Regions from separate parts of the Homo sapiens genome. Here all the other regions are linked to region 3. The links are contacts of gene promoters, found by promoter capture Hi-C in blood cells and fetal thymus (Javierre and others, 2016). All regions are on one chromosome and are shown on one strand. Each heading gives the region's core, a stretch centred on a gene start or on the middle of the fragment in contact. The rest is flanking DNA. Distances are from core to core; before and after follow the strand shown.

The links. The method cuts DNA at HindIII sites, captures the fragments that hold promoters and counts their contacts. A CHiCAGO score of 5 or more calls a contact.
Region 1: a contact is called between a fragment that was not itself captured here and the fragment with the promoter of GPC1 in region 3, in 1 of 17 cell types (endothelial precursors). The highest score is 6.2, in endothelial precursors.
Region 2: a contact is called between a fragment that was not itself captured here and the fragment with the promoter of GPC1 in region 3, in 1 of 17 cell types (endothelial precursors). The highest score is 6.0, in endothelial precursors.

Annotation. Positions count from the first base shown.
Region 1 is chr2:240,249,813-240,253,228 of GRCh38, reverse strand. It overlaps LOC105373968 (a long non-coding RNA gene), which reads left to right. Exons shown (of 2, transcript XR_924057.3): 2 at 1-1,120. Among named protein-coding and RNA genes, the nearest start is that of OTOS, 110 kb to the right of the region's middle. RefSeq lists enhancers at 958-1,469, 1,470-1,983. The HindIII fragment of the contact is 8,779 bases long and covers 1-3,416 here.
Region 2 is chr2:240,213,532-240,217,116 of GRCh38, reverse strand. All of the region lies in intron 2 of LOC107985836 (a long non-coding RNA gene), which reads left to right. Among named protein-coding and RNA genes, the nearest start is that of OTOS, 75 kb to the right of the region's middle. The HindIII fragment of the contact is 1,243 bases long and covers 1,108-2,350 here.
Region 3 is chr2:240,433,998-240,437,710 of GRCh38, reverse strand. GPC1 (glypican 1) reads right to left here and starts at 2,048. Exons shown (of 9, transcript NM_002081.3): 1 at 1,627-2,048. The coding sequence starts at 1,792. RefSeq lists enhancers at 1-47, 99-675, 2,409-2,985, 3,385-3,679 and silencers at 1,800-1,859, 1,920-2,579. The HindIII fragment of the contact is 5,949 bases long and covers 704-3,713 here.

The sequences.
Region 1 (3,416 bases), core at 181-2,680, 180 kb after region 3:
CTTCTGGAAAGCCTTTCTGAATGGGAAGGTGGGCTGCCTACCATGAGCTGCAGTGACAGCCCCTCACAGCCACTGTCCTCCAGGCTGTCCCAGGAGGCACCTGAGCTCATACAGATCGGTGGTTTCCCACTCCCAGAGCCTCCGGGGGCTCGGTGCCCCTCTGCCCACTTTGTGTCCGGCTGATCAGGAGGCTCACGTCGGCCTCCTCAGAGCAAAGCTCACCCACATCCCATGCAGGGATGGGCAGGACCTGTGAGCCCACCCTGTGACAGGAAGGCCCCACAGTACAGATACAGGGAGCCCCTCCAATGGCATGCACCACCAGGGTGCCAGATCAGGCTAGACCAGTGGCCAGCACCCACCTGCAGCGCAGGCAGTCCTGAAATCCTGTTTCCAAACCTCCTGAGCCCCTCTTCCCTGTATGGCCTCCAGGCCGCCTCCCTCTGTCAGGATTAAGCCCAGCTTTCTCATGGAGACCGTGTCTGTCTCCATCCCCGGCACCGTCTCCATCCCCAGGCACCCTCACACTCACTCCCAGCTGCATGGCCGCCACCCACCCAGCTGGGGTTTCCATTAGGCCCTGTAGGTTCCCCACCTCGGTCTCCTTCAGTGGGTTCCTTCTACACTACTGAGGTCAGGGCCACATCACAGTCATTTCTGTGTGTCCAGGGCTGTGAACACGGAGCTGCCGCGGTCAGCATTCCCTGTACATGGATGTAGGGTCAGGACCACTGTACCCTGTGGGGGCCTAGGTCACAGAGAAATCCCAGGCCTTGTTCAGAGATGGTGAAGGGTGCCCGGTGGCAACAGCAGGGTGTCCTCTGAGCCCCGGCACTTCTGAGCTCAGGGCTGAGTGACCACACAGGTAGCTGCTATGGGCCCAGCCCTTCTGCATCGTGCTGGGGGGATGCGGGGGCTCTGTTGCCTTCTCGGGTCCCAGGGAGATGTGCCTTCTGTGCCCACGTCTCAGCGGCTCCCACGGCGCATCCAGTGAACTGGGAAGTGTGAATGAGCACCTGCTCGGGCCAGTGATTCATCCGAGTGTCGTTAGCTGCTAATTATAATTAAACCTTTGATGAGTTGTGTTTCTTATCTTCTTAATTAAAATAATTATGACTAATGGAGTGGATGGCACTGAACTCCGACAGGTCTCCTGCAACATGTTACAGTGCCCAAACCCAGCTCCAGGGTGAGCTAGATGGATGGGGCTGTCACCCGGCAGCCAATGGCAAGTTCTGGGTCACCCTCAACCCCAAGGGCCAGCCCAGCACCCCTGGGGGAGGAGCGGGGGAGAGAGCCACTGCTGATTCTGTCTGCCCAGCACAAACCCCAATCTCTAAACCAGGGCTTGCTCCCAGATGGGGAGGCAGTGGGAGCGGGAGGGAGGGAGAGCTGGGGCGGGAAGGTGCAGGGAGACTCCTTCTCCCTCCTCGCCTGGTCCCTGGACATCTGCCAGTCCCAGCCAGTAGTGAATGGCTGATGTCACCATGGCCCTGGCGGAGCCACGGTACTTCCCAGCTTACAAAGTACTCTCAGTGCTGCGGGGTCATGATGTCCCCTCCCACCCTGCTGGGCCTCCGTCTTACAGAGAAGCAGCCAGGCCCAGGGAAGACTTGCTCACCAAGGGCAAAGGGCAGTGAGTCGGCCACAGGAACACAGCCCCCGGCCTTCAGGGCCAGCCGCCACCCACGCCAGCCACCCTGGGCGTACAGAATGTACCCGTGCGCGGGGGCTGGAGGTCGGCTATTCCGGGATCCGTGGCCATGGGATGACCAGCCCCTCCCCCGCTGAGGACTCAGCCTCCTTCTGTGTGGGATGAGGGGGTGGCAGGCTGGCCTCTGAGGCTGCTCTGTGAGGCCACGGGGGACCACTCGAGTGTGGGGAGCCCCAGGCTCAGCACACAAAGGTCTCACCCAGCCCGTGACTGACCCCGGGCAGCCCAGCGTGAGTCATGCTCTCAGGCCACACCCACCTACTCTGAGGCTGCGGTTTCTCATCACTACCCAGAGGCGTGGCCTCCTGCAGGCGTGTGGTCAGCCCAGGCTGGGCTAGGGGTCACAGCCCTGCTGGTCATACGCACCTTGGGTCATCTCCAGGGACTGGCAGCCAGGCCTCTGCAGCCCCTTCTCCGCCGGCTGCTTGGGCTCAGGGGTACCGGGCCCTCTCCTCATGCCCTTTATGGGTGGGGGCGGAGGGTTTGTGCCCACCCTTTCTTCTCAGGGAGGCTGAGCGGGGGTGAGGGCTGTCCACGCAGTTGGTGGGGGCCAGAGTGGCACCAGCTGGGACTTGCTGTCTGACCCTAGGGGTCCCTGTGGCCAGCCCCAGCCCTGGTGCCCACCCTGGGCAGGTCAGGAACGGGACAGTGTGGTGGCCAGGAAGGCTTCAGGAACCAGAAAGTGGGTGCCGTGGGGTCTTCCTCTCCAGGCACGGGTCCTGAGCCTTCCCTAGGGTCCCCCTCTGCCCTGACCTCTACCCCTTCACATGGGGCTCCGTCAGCCTGTGGCTCTCATCCTGGGCGCTTGTGCCCACTGGTCCTACTGCAAACTACACCCAAGGGCCTCCTTGCACCCAGGTGCCTTCTCTGTCCTCAGCCTCGAGACTCCGTGTGGCTGGGCTGGGGCCTTCCACTGCCGCGGCAGTGCTTGGGCTGTACTCTTGTGGGAACCCTCCTCCCTCTTCAGCCCTCCTTCTCCCTTCCCAAAGACTCTCCTTTATGGGGGTCAAGGGAGGGAGGGTCCATCCCAGGAGTCTCCATGGCTGGGAAGAGGTGGCCTTGTCTCCCAGGATCCTCATCAACGTCTCCTCCACCCCAAGCTGGGCCGATTTCCCCCTTGTCAATCCCACCCTTGCAGGGATGACTGTAAGGTGGGGCGGGTGAGGAGGTGGCACCATCTGATTGGCCTGCCTGGTAGAGGCGGGAGAGCTAGAAATGTGATTGACAGAGGGACCCAGCAGTGTCTCAGGAGGTGGGAAGGGGAGGTCCCCAGGGCAGGTGTTGGGGTCCCCAGAGCTGTCCCACAGGAGCCCCCAGCCAGAACTCCCTGGGGCAAGGCCTACTCCCTTGTACTGTGTCTCAGGAAGGTCCCTGCCCACCTGGCAGGTAGGACGGGATACCTGGGGCCGTGCTAGGCCAGATCTGAAAATGCCTCCAGAGAAAATCTTCAACCACTGGCTCGCAGCCTGGGAGGGAGGGAGGCCCCAGGAGGAGGAGACTGTGCAGCTGCTGAGGACCCGGCAGAAACAAGAGCCCCTTCTCCTCCCAGGCTGGCCCTGTGTGGCGTGGTCTCAGTGCTCCGCTGGCTCAGTCCAAATGGGAAACAGTAAATGCATTCAGTGTGACAGAAACGGATCCGCCCCACTCAGAGGTCAGGGGAGCCTGGAGAAGCAGCATGAGGTCTCCCTATCTCCCCTGTGAG
Region 2 (3,585 bases), core at 480-2,979, 220 kb after region 3:
TCCCTCCACCCCCCCACCCCTCACCCTGCATCCACCCACACCCCGTCCCTCCACCCCACCCCACCCACCCCTCACCCTGCATCCACCCCACCCCCATCCTTCCACCCCACCCCACCCACCCCTCACCCTGCATCCACCCCCACCCCTGTCCCTCCACCCCACCCCACCCACCCCTCACCCTGCATCCACCCCCACCCCCATCCTTCCACCCCACCCCACCCACCCCTCACCCTGCATCCACCCCCACCCCCATCCTTCCACTCAACCCCACCCACCCCTCACCCTGCATCCACCCCCACCCCCATCCTTCCACCCCACCCCACCCACCCCTCACCCTGCATCCACCCCCACCCCCATCCTTCCACCCCACCCCACCCCACCCCCACCCTGCATCCACCCCCACCCCCTTTCTCTCCACCCCACCCCACCCCCACCCCTCACCCTGCATCCACCCCCACCCCCATCCTTCCACCCCACCCCACCCACCCCTCACCCTGCATCCACCTCCACGCCCAGCTGTCCCACTTCCTGGCTCTCCCACCTCCCCCTGCTCCCCAGGTTCCTGCACTGTTCCCCTCCCCTCAAGACCCCCTTGTTCTGTGCACCTCCACTTCTGCCTCCCTGCAGGGCAGTGTCTGACTGTGGAGAGGTTGCTCATCTCTGTGAAGTGGGGGTGCACAGGGACCATGCAGCTCTCTGAGGCTGGCAGTTGCAGTGCAGCCCAGCAGGTGAGCGTGGGTGTCTGCTGAGGCTGTCCTGCCTAGTAAATCTGTTGGCGCATTTCAGAGGAAAGTGCCGTCTGCTTCCTATGTACCCTTTTTCTTGGGTCGTGTCTCTGGTCTGGAGTAGACTGACCCCCCACAGGCGTGGGGATCCGGCTGGCAGGGCTACAAGAGGAAGACGGGAATCTGATGCCACCTGGCTGAGCTGTGCTCAACCGATCCCAGCCAAGACCCCAAGAGGACCTGCCTTAGGGATGCCCACTCCAGCCCCCAGCCCTCTCAGGTCAGGAGGCAGACCCCTGAGGAGGAGCTGATAGCTCTGAGACTCACCTGGTCAGTGGCGGGCCCAGGATACAGCTCTGGCCCTCTCTGGTGATGTGAAGCTTCCTTTCTGTTCTGCACGATTGTTCTTCATGAGCACAGGGTCTTGCTGTGTGGTTCCCTCCCCAGAGGAGCCGAGGTCAGACCAGCTCACCGTGCACCCCTCACTCAGGGCAGTCTTGAGGGCCTCTGGTGGGTGCCTGGGGCCAGCCTGAGGCCTCCCCGGGGCTGCCCCTGCCCCAGCAAAGGGCTCCGGACCAGAACCAAGACCTCTCCTCGAGGGCCAGGGAGGCCCCAGCCAGGCTCCATTCCCTGACCATGTTCCCATCGAAGCTGGCAGGGATGGCTCAAGGCCGTGACATGCTACTTTGCTGATAGCCATGAGTGGCATCACTGTCACCTGGTTTTTCAGGCAGGGGAACTGGGGGTTCTGACAATGATGCACCCACATCACACTCTGGAACCTGCACTCGACCACCAGGGCTCCGTCTGGACACTCAGGGGTTACATAATGGTGGGGGACTGGGGTGGTCCTGGAAGGGAAGGAGCAGCTGCTTAGGGTCTGGGGCAGGATTCTGGGCCCTGGTCCTTAGGAGGAGGGAAGGGGACTAGGCCGAAGGATGGGCTGGTGCAGTGACCAGGGGCAGGGCCAGAGCCTGCGGGATGGGAGCCCAGAGGGAGACCTGGCCTGCCTGATTGCCAGGCCTTGCCGGGGGAGGGTTGGTCTTTTCTCCAAGAGTCATGGGTCCTGACCCGCAGGAAGGCGGCACACTGAGTTGGAAAGAGTCTGCGGGGAACCAGGGTACCAGACACTGACGCTCCCACCAGGCCTTCCACCTGCTGCACAGCTGTGCATGAACTGGGCGCCCGGCCCACACCCAGGGCCCGAAGCGGCTGCAAACCAGACCAGACAGAGGCCATGGTTTCCTGGGCCACAGCTGTGAAACACGTGTTCAGGTTAACTGTCCGAGCTCACAGTCCAGCAGCAACCCGGCTTCCCCAGCTTGGTGCTTGGAGACCCGGCCAGAGGCGGCAAGCAAGCTGGGAGCCATCTTGTCAGGCAGTGAAGGTGCCCGAGTCAGCTGGTGGACTGTGAGGCCAGATCTGGGCTGCATGGCCTCCGAGGACCCTGCAGTGCCCTCTCTCATATCCGGGGGCACCCTGGAGTTCCTCCCCAAGGACGTGCTTGAAGCTCCAGGCCCGTCCCGGCTCAGATCCACCATGGGCTCCGCATCTGTATCTAGTCAGGAGGCCACAGCCAGGGGTCAGCCAGCCTCTCTCTGCCTAGTGAGAAAAGGAAAAAAGCTTTTATCCAAGGAATGTAGTCTTTTGACACTGTCAGTCCCAGAAAGACGTTAAGATGAGACAGCAGTCACATCCTCTCCCGCTTTGAGCTGTGTGTCCACCTCTTGAAGCTGCTTGTGACCGCTGCAGCAGCTGTAAAGTAACCTAGTAATGCCACACTGGACGCTGTAACTCATGCCCTGTAGCTGAACAGTGGATAGCCAATCACTCACCAATGTGGTTTCCGTAAGCCAATGGGAATTCCCAACAAACAACTCTCTGTCCCCCTTTTTCGTCTTTAAAAACCTGCCTGTAATAAAGGCCGAATAGGGCTCCTATCCAAGCTGCTTCAGTCCGAGTCTTCCAGGCAGCTGCCCTCACCTCAGCTCAAGTCAATCTTTCAGCTACATTTTATGCCTCAGCCTCTTCCTTTTAGGTGGTCACCAGCATCCCTGCAGATGGGAGCCAGCTGCGGCTGTGTCCCGAGGCAAGGGCAGGCAGTGCCTTCAGGCTGGGTGAGAGGGGACATCTCCAGGCAGGCTCCTGCTCTCAGGCCGAGCTGGCCAGCATGGCTGGAATGCTGATGAGGAGAGCAGGAGCTGGACTCACTGAATGCTAATGAGAGGCAGACAGCACCTCCGTGCATGGCAGGCCCGCGCCAGGCCGCTCTGAGGGATACCCTGGTCAGTACCCCAGAGGTCATGTCTGGGTTCTTATCTGTTGAAAGACTGGGAAGTGGCTGTTCGTTCAAGGAGCTGGTCGTGTGGCCTGGCCCGGGATCCTGTGCTTGCCTGCTCTCTCACAGCACTGGTGAACGCCCACGTGAGCGGTGTATTCCTGTCTACACAGCAAGCAGCCTGTGAGGGGTGCATTCATTTTTACACAGTGAGCGCCCTGTGCTACGTCTTGATCACTATCCAAGCGGAATTCTGTGCCCTCCCGACTGCTCAGTCAGACTCAGCATGGTGAACAACCAGCTGATCGAAACAAATCACATCAAGGTCAGAAGCAGGCAGCCCAGGTGCCCCTGCTGCAGGCAGGTCTGTGTAGCGGGTTTACCATGCCCCGGGCTCCATGGGGCCAGGTGCTGGGAAATCCAGTGGCCTGGAGAGGAGCCCCCAGGATCCCCCCGGAGAGGCTCAGAGGGGCTGGGGGGGCTTGGAGGGGCTGGGCCTGGCTGAAGAACCACCCCCAGTGGCCCCTTTACCACTCCCAGTGACCCCTTTGCTGCTCTCTGTGTCCCCCCTTCCTGGTCTTG
Region 3 (3,713 bases), core at 799-3,298:
CCCTGGTGCCTGGGGAGGGATTCACCAGGAAGGCCAGGGATGCCTCTTTATGTGTGAGTAGAGGGGCAGAGAACGAACCCAACTGTGCCGAGGGCCTTGTGCTGCCTGGCATCCAGGTGTGCCCCCTACCTGGGACAGACAGAGCCCAGTGGGGTGAGGGGGGCAGCCTGGAAATGACAGGGTTGCCTCTGCAGAGGCACAGGAAGGCCTGTCCTGGGGACTTTGGAGGGGTCCTTGCAAGAACCTCAGGCTGGTGGGGAGGGCATCGGGAGATCCGCCAAGGGACTGTCTGCGGGTTCTGTTCCTTCTGTGGGGGGCGGTCAGGGGGCCCTTACAAGAACCTCAGGCTGGGGGCATCGGGAGATCCACCAAGGGCAAGGGGCTGTCTGTGGGTTCTGTTCCTCCTGGAGGGGCAGGGGTCCAGAGCCCGACTGCCTCCTCCCACCACTCCGCCCCCCGCGGCAAGGCATGGCCACAGACCCCCCTCACCCAGATGCACGGATCCTTCTTGCTCAGAATCCCCAGGACCATGGGCATTTCTGCGCTGAGTCCCCATCTGAGTAGCCCTCCACCCGCACTCCCACTCCCCTGGTTTCAGAGGAGCCCCCCAGAGCAGGAACCTAGTCTGTTTTGTTCTTGCCCACTGGGTCCCTGGCACGCGGTACAGACCGAGGTTGGTTCCCACACGTGGAAAGGTGAAGCTTGGGTTCCAAGAGTTCCTTAGCACACGGAGCCCACCGTTCCACCCACCCGTACACTTCTGTCCCCAAAGCTCCTCCGGGACCACAGGGAGGGAAGAGGCAGAGCCGCAGGCGGCTGCAGGGCTTAGGGGGCGCCAAGAGGGCCGCTGTTCTTACAAAGAAATGACACGGCCCCTGGGCGGGATCCAACGCGCCGACCACCTGCAGCTGGACTCGCGGCACGAGGCTGCCCAAGCGCCAGGCGGGGGCCGGCGCGTACAAGTTCTTCGACAGGAATCTCTACGAGGCGGCGGCGTTCCGCCCGCGGATAAGTGCCCAGCTCCCTCCCCACCCCTCCGCACTACCCCCCGAGGGGGTCAGCTTATAAAACCCACCTAGGCTGCCTTTGCTGGAGACCCTACGAGAATCCCCGGGCAGGACCGGAGACGCCTCCCAGAGAGGTCTGTACAGAGCAGAAGGGGTCCGCGGCCACCGTCAGCGGCGCCCCGAAAGCCCGGCCACGCCGAGCCCCACAGCGCCCCGACAGCCGGCCCCGGGGCTGGGACTCCCGGCCTGCAGGCGCGCTGGGCCGAGCGGCGGGCAGAAGACGCCCAGCTCCAGCCGTGGCCCGGGAGGAGCGCCCCGAGCCCGCAGCCCGGCGAGATCAGCTCCGCAGGGAAGAAGCCGGCGTGCGGGGGGCGGGGAGGGGCGGAGGACGACCGAGCGGGGCGGAGGAGACCCTGGCGAGGGAGTGCGGCGCGGGGCTTGGAGGCGAGGGCCGTGGGGTTGCAGAGGAGCCGCAGCGCAGGGAGCCATTCGGGGCCCGGGCGGCGGGGCGCAGGCGGCAGGATCCCGCGCCGGGGGCGAGTAGCCGCGTCGGGAAGACCAGGGTCCGGAGCCCAAAGCCCGGCCAGGCCCGGGTTCCCGGCGCCGCGCCCTCACTCACCCGAGATCTCCGCCTGGGGCACGTCGCTCAGGCTGAAGCCCTTGGCTCCGTAGATCTGGCGGACCTCGCCGCAGCTCCGGCTCTTGCTGGCCGGGTCCCCGCGGGCGCAGGCGACCAGCGCTGCGGCCGCACATAGCAGCCACCAGCCTCGGGCCCGGAGCTCCATGGCGGGGCCGGCGGCGCCCCCGGCCACCCGCCCGCGCCTCTCTCGGATCCTGGCCGGGTCCTGCGCAGTTCCCGCCCGCGAAGGGCAGAGCCAAGGTCCCGGCGCGCGCGGCTCGCGGTCCAGAGGCGGCGGCGGCCGAGGAGGCGGAGACAACAAAAGCCGGCGGCGGCGGCGGCGCGGGGCGCGCGGGGTGCGAGGTCCGAACGCTCGCTCGGGCAGCCCAGAGCGCGGCGGGCTAGCGCAGTCCCGGCTCGGCGCCTCCCCCGCCGCCGGCCCGGCCCCTAGGCGGCCGCGGGAGAGGAGAGGGGCGGGGCAGGGTGGGAGCGCAGGGGTGGGGGAGGGACTGGGAGCACCGGGCGGGGCGGGGCGGGGCGCGGCGCGGGGGCGCGGGCCGGGGCGCACTGGGCGCTCCTCTGGCTCTTAGGGACCCAGAGGGCCCGCCTGGCCGCGCGACTCTATCGATCCCCGGCGGGAGGCGGCGGAGCCGGGCAGCGCGGGGCCGCGGCCGGGGTCCCCGAGGGCGGCCCCCCACGCCCAGCGCCCAGGGCGGTGGCACCACCTGTGGGGGCGGGGACGGGGGCGGAGGGTGCGCGAGGCAGGGCTTCCCCCGCCGGACGTGACATCACGCCTCCCGCGCCCCAATCAGGGGCCTCCCCGCCCCCAGCCGAAATCGGCATCCCGCTCCCCGCTCCCTCCCGCGCGCTCCGGCTTCCTGCACCCTGGCAGCGCGCCCCGAGAACGCTCTCCCGGCGCCTCCGTACCCTCCGCCCGCCGGCCGCGCCTCGAGCCGCCGCCCCTCTCCCCGCCTGCACCCCGCAGCGGCTCCCTCCCCGCGCCCTTCCAGCCGTCTCGCGCTGGGCTCCGGCTCGCACCGGGGGCTTTTGTGGTGTGGGGGCTGCACGCAGGAAACTCGCCAAGAAACTCGACCTCACCTCTCCCAGTCCCAGGGAGCGGCAACAGATGGCTTAATTGTTGGACCTTGACAGCTGTTTTGGGGGGGTGACCCTCCACGTTCTTTGGATGCTGGAGAAACCAAAGTGATGGGGCAGGGCCGGTCTACTGGTTTGGGCTGCTGGGTGGGGCCAGATGACCTCTGGAGAAGGGATAGGGTTGGAACCCGGCGACTAGTTAGGCCACTGGGGGAGGAGGGTGGAGTGAGCCGGAGCAGATGCCTCTTTGAAGAAGGCGGGAGGGCTGCCTGCACCTTGTATGGTAGGAGGGCGCGTGGCTTTAGCTGCACATGGGGAGTTGGGCTGGATGGGGTCTGTAGGGAGGGGGCGAGGACTGCGATGTTGGTGTCTGGAGGGCTTCACTCCTTCCTTGGCTCCCAGACCCCCCACCCCGGCCCCCTGTTCTCCACATGGTAAGGCCTGGCGGTGAAGCCAGGTGCCTGAGCTGCAGAATTGGGGGCAGGCATAGAGGTCAGTATCCTTGGCAGAGAACCTCAAGATGACCCCCATGTACAGCAAGGGTGTCCTGATTTCAGGGCCTGTGGCATCACCTGGAAGCTGCAGCGGGGTCCGTGGTGGGGGTGGTGGCAACATTCCCTACCCCTTCTGTGCCTGGGGCTCTCAGCCGCTGTGTGGGGCTGGAGCAGGAAGGTGGGGTGCCCTCCCCCTGGGCTCTTGGGGTTTCCTGCCCTGCCTCCCAGAGAAGGTTGCTCCTTCACCCAGAGACACTGAGTCATTGCTGGAGAGGGAGGCTTTGGGGACCCAATCCAAGTGTGCATTTCCCTGCCCTCCCCCACATACCCTCTGCTGCGTCACATTTTGTGACTCACAGACCCCTGTTCAGTACATGCTCCAGGCTTGCTCCTTCTTGCCTGGGCCTGGCGTGGCTGCCTGCACACCTTATCCAGCACGGTCAGGAGCCTGGGCCCACGATCCCGCTCTCTCTCTGTGTGGTCTCACGCACTGCGGGA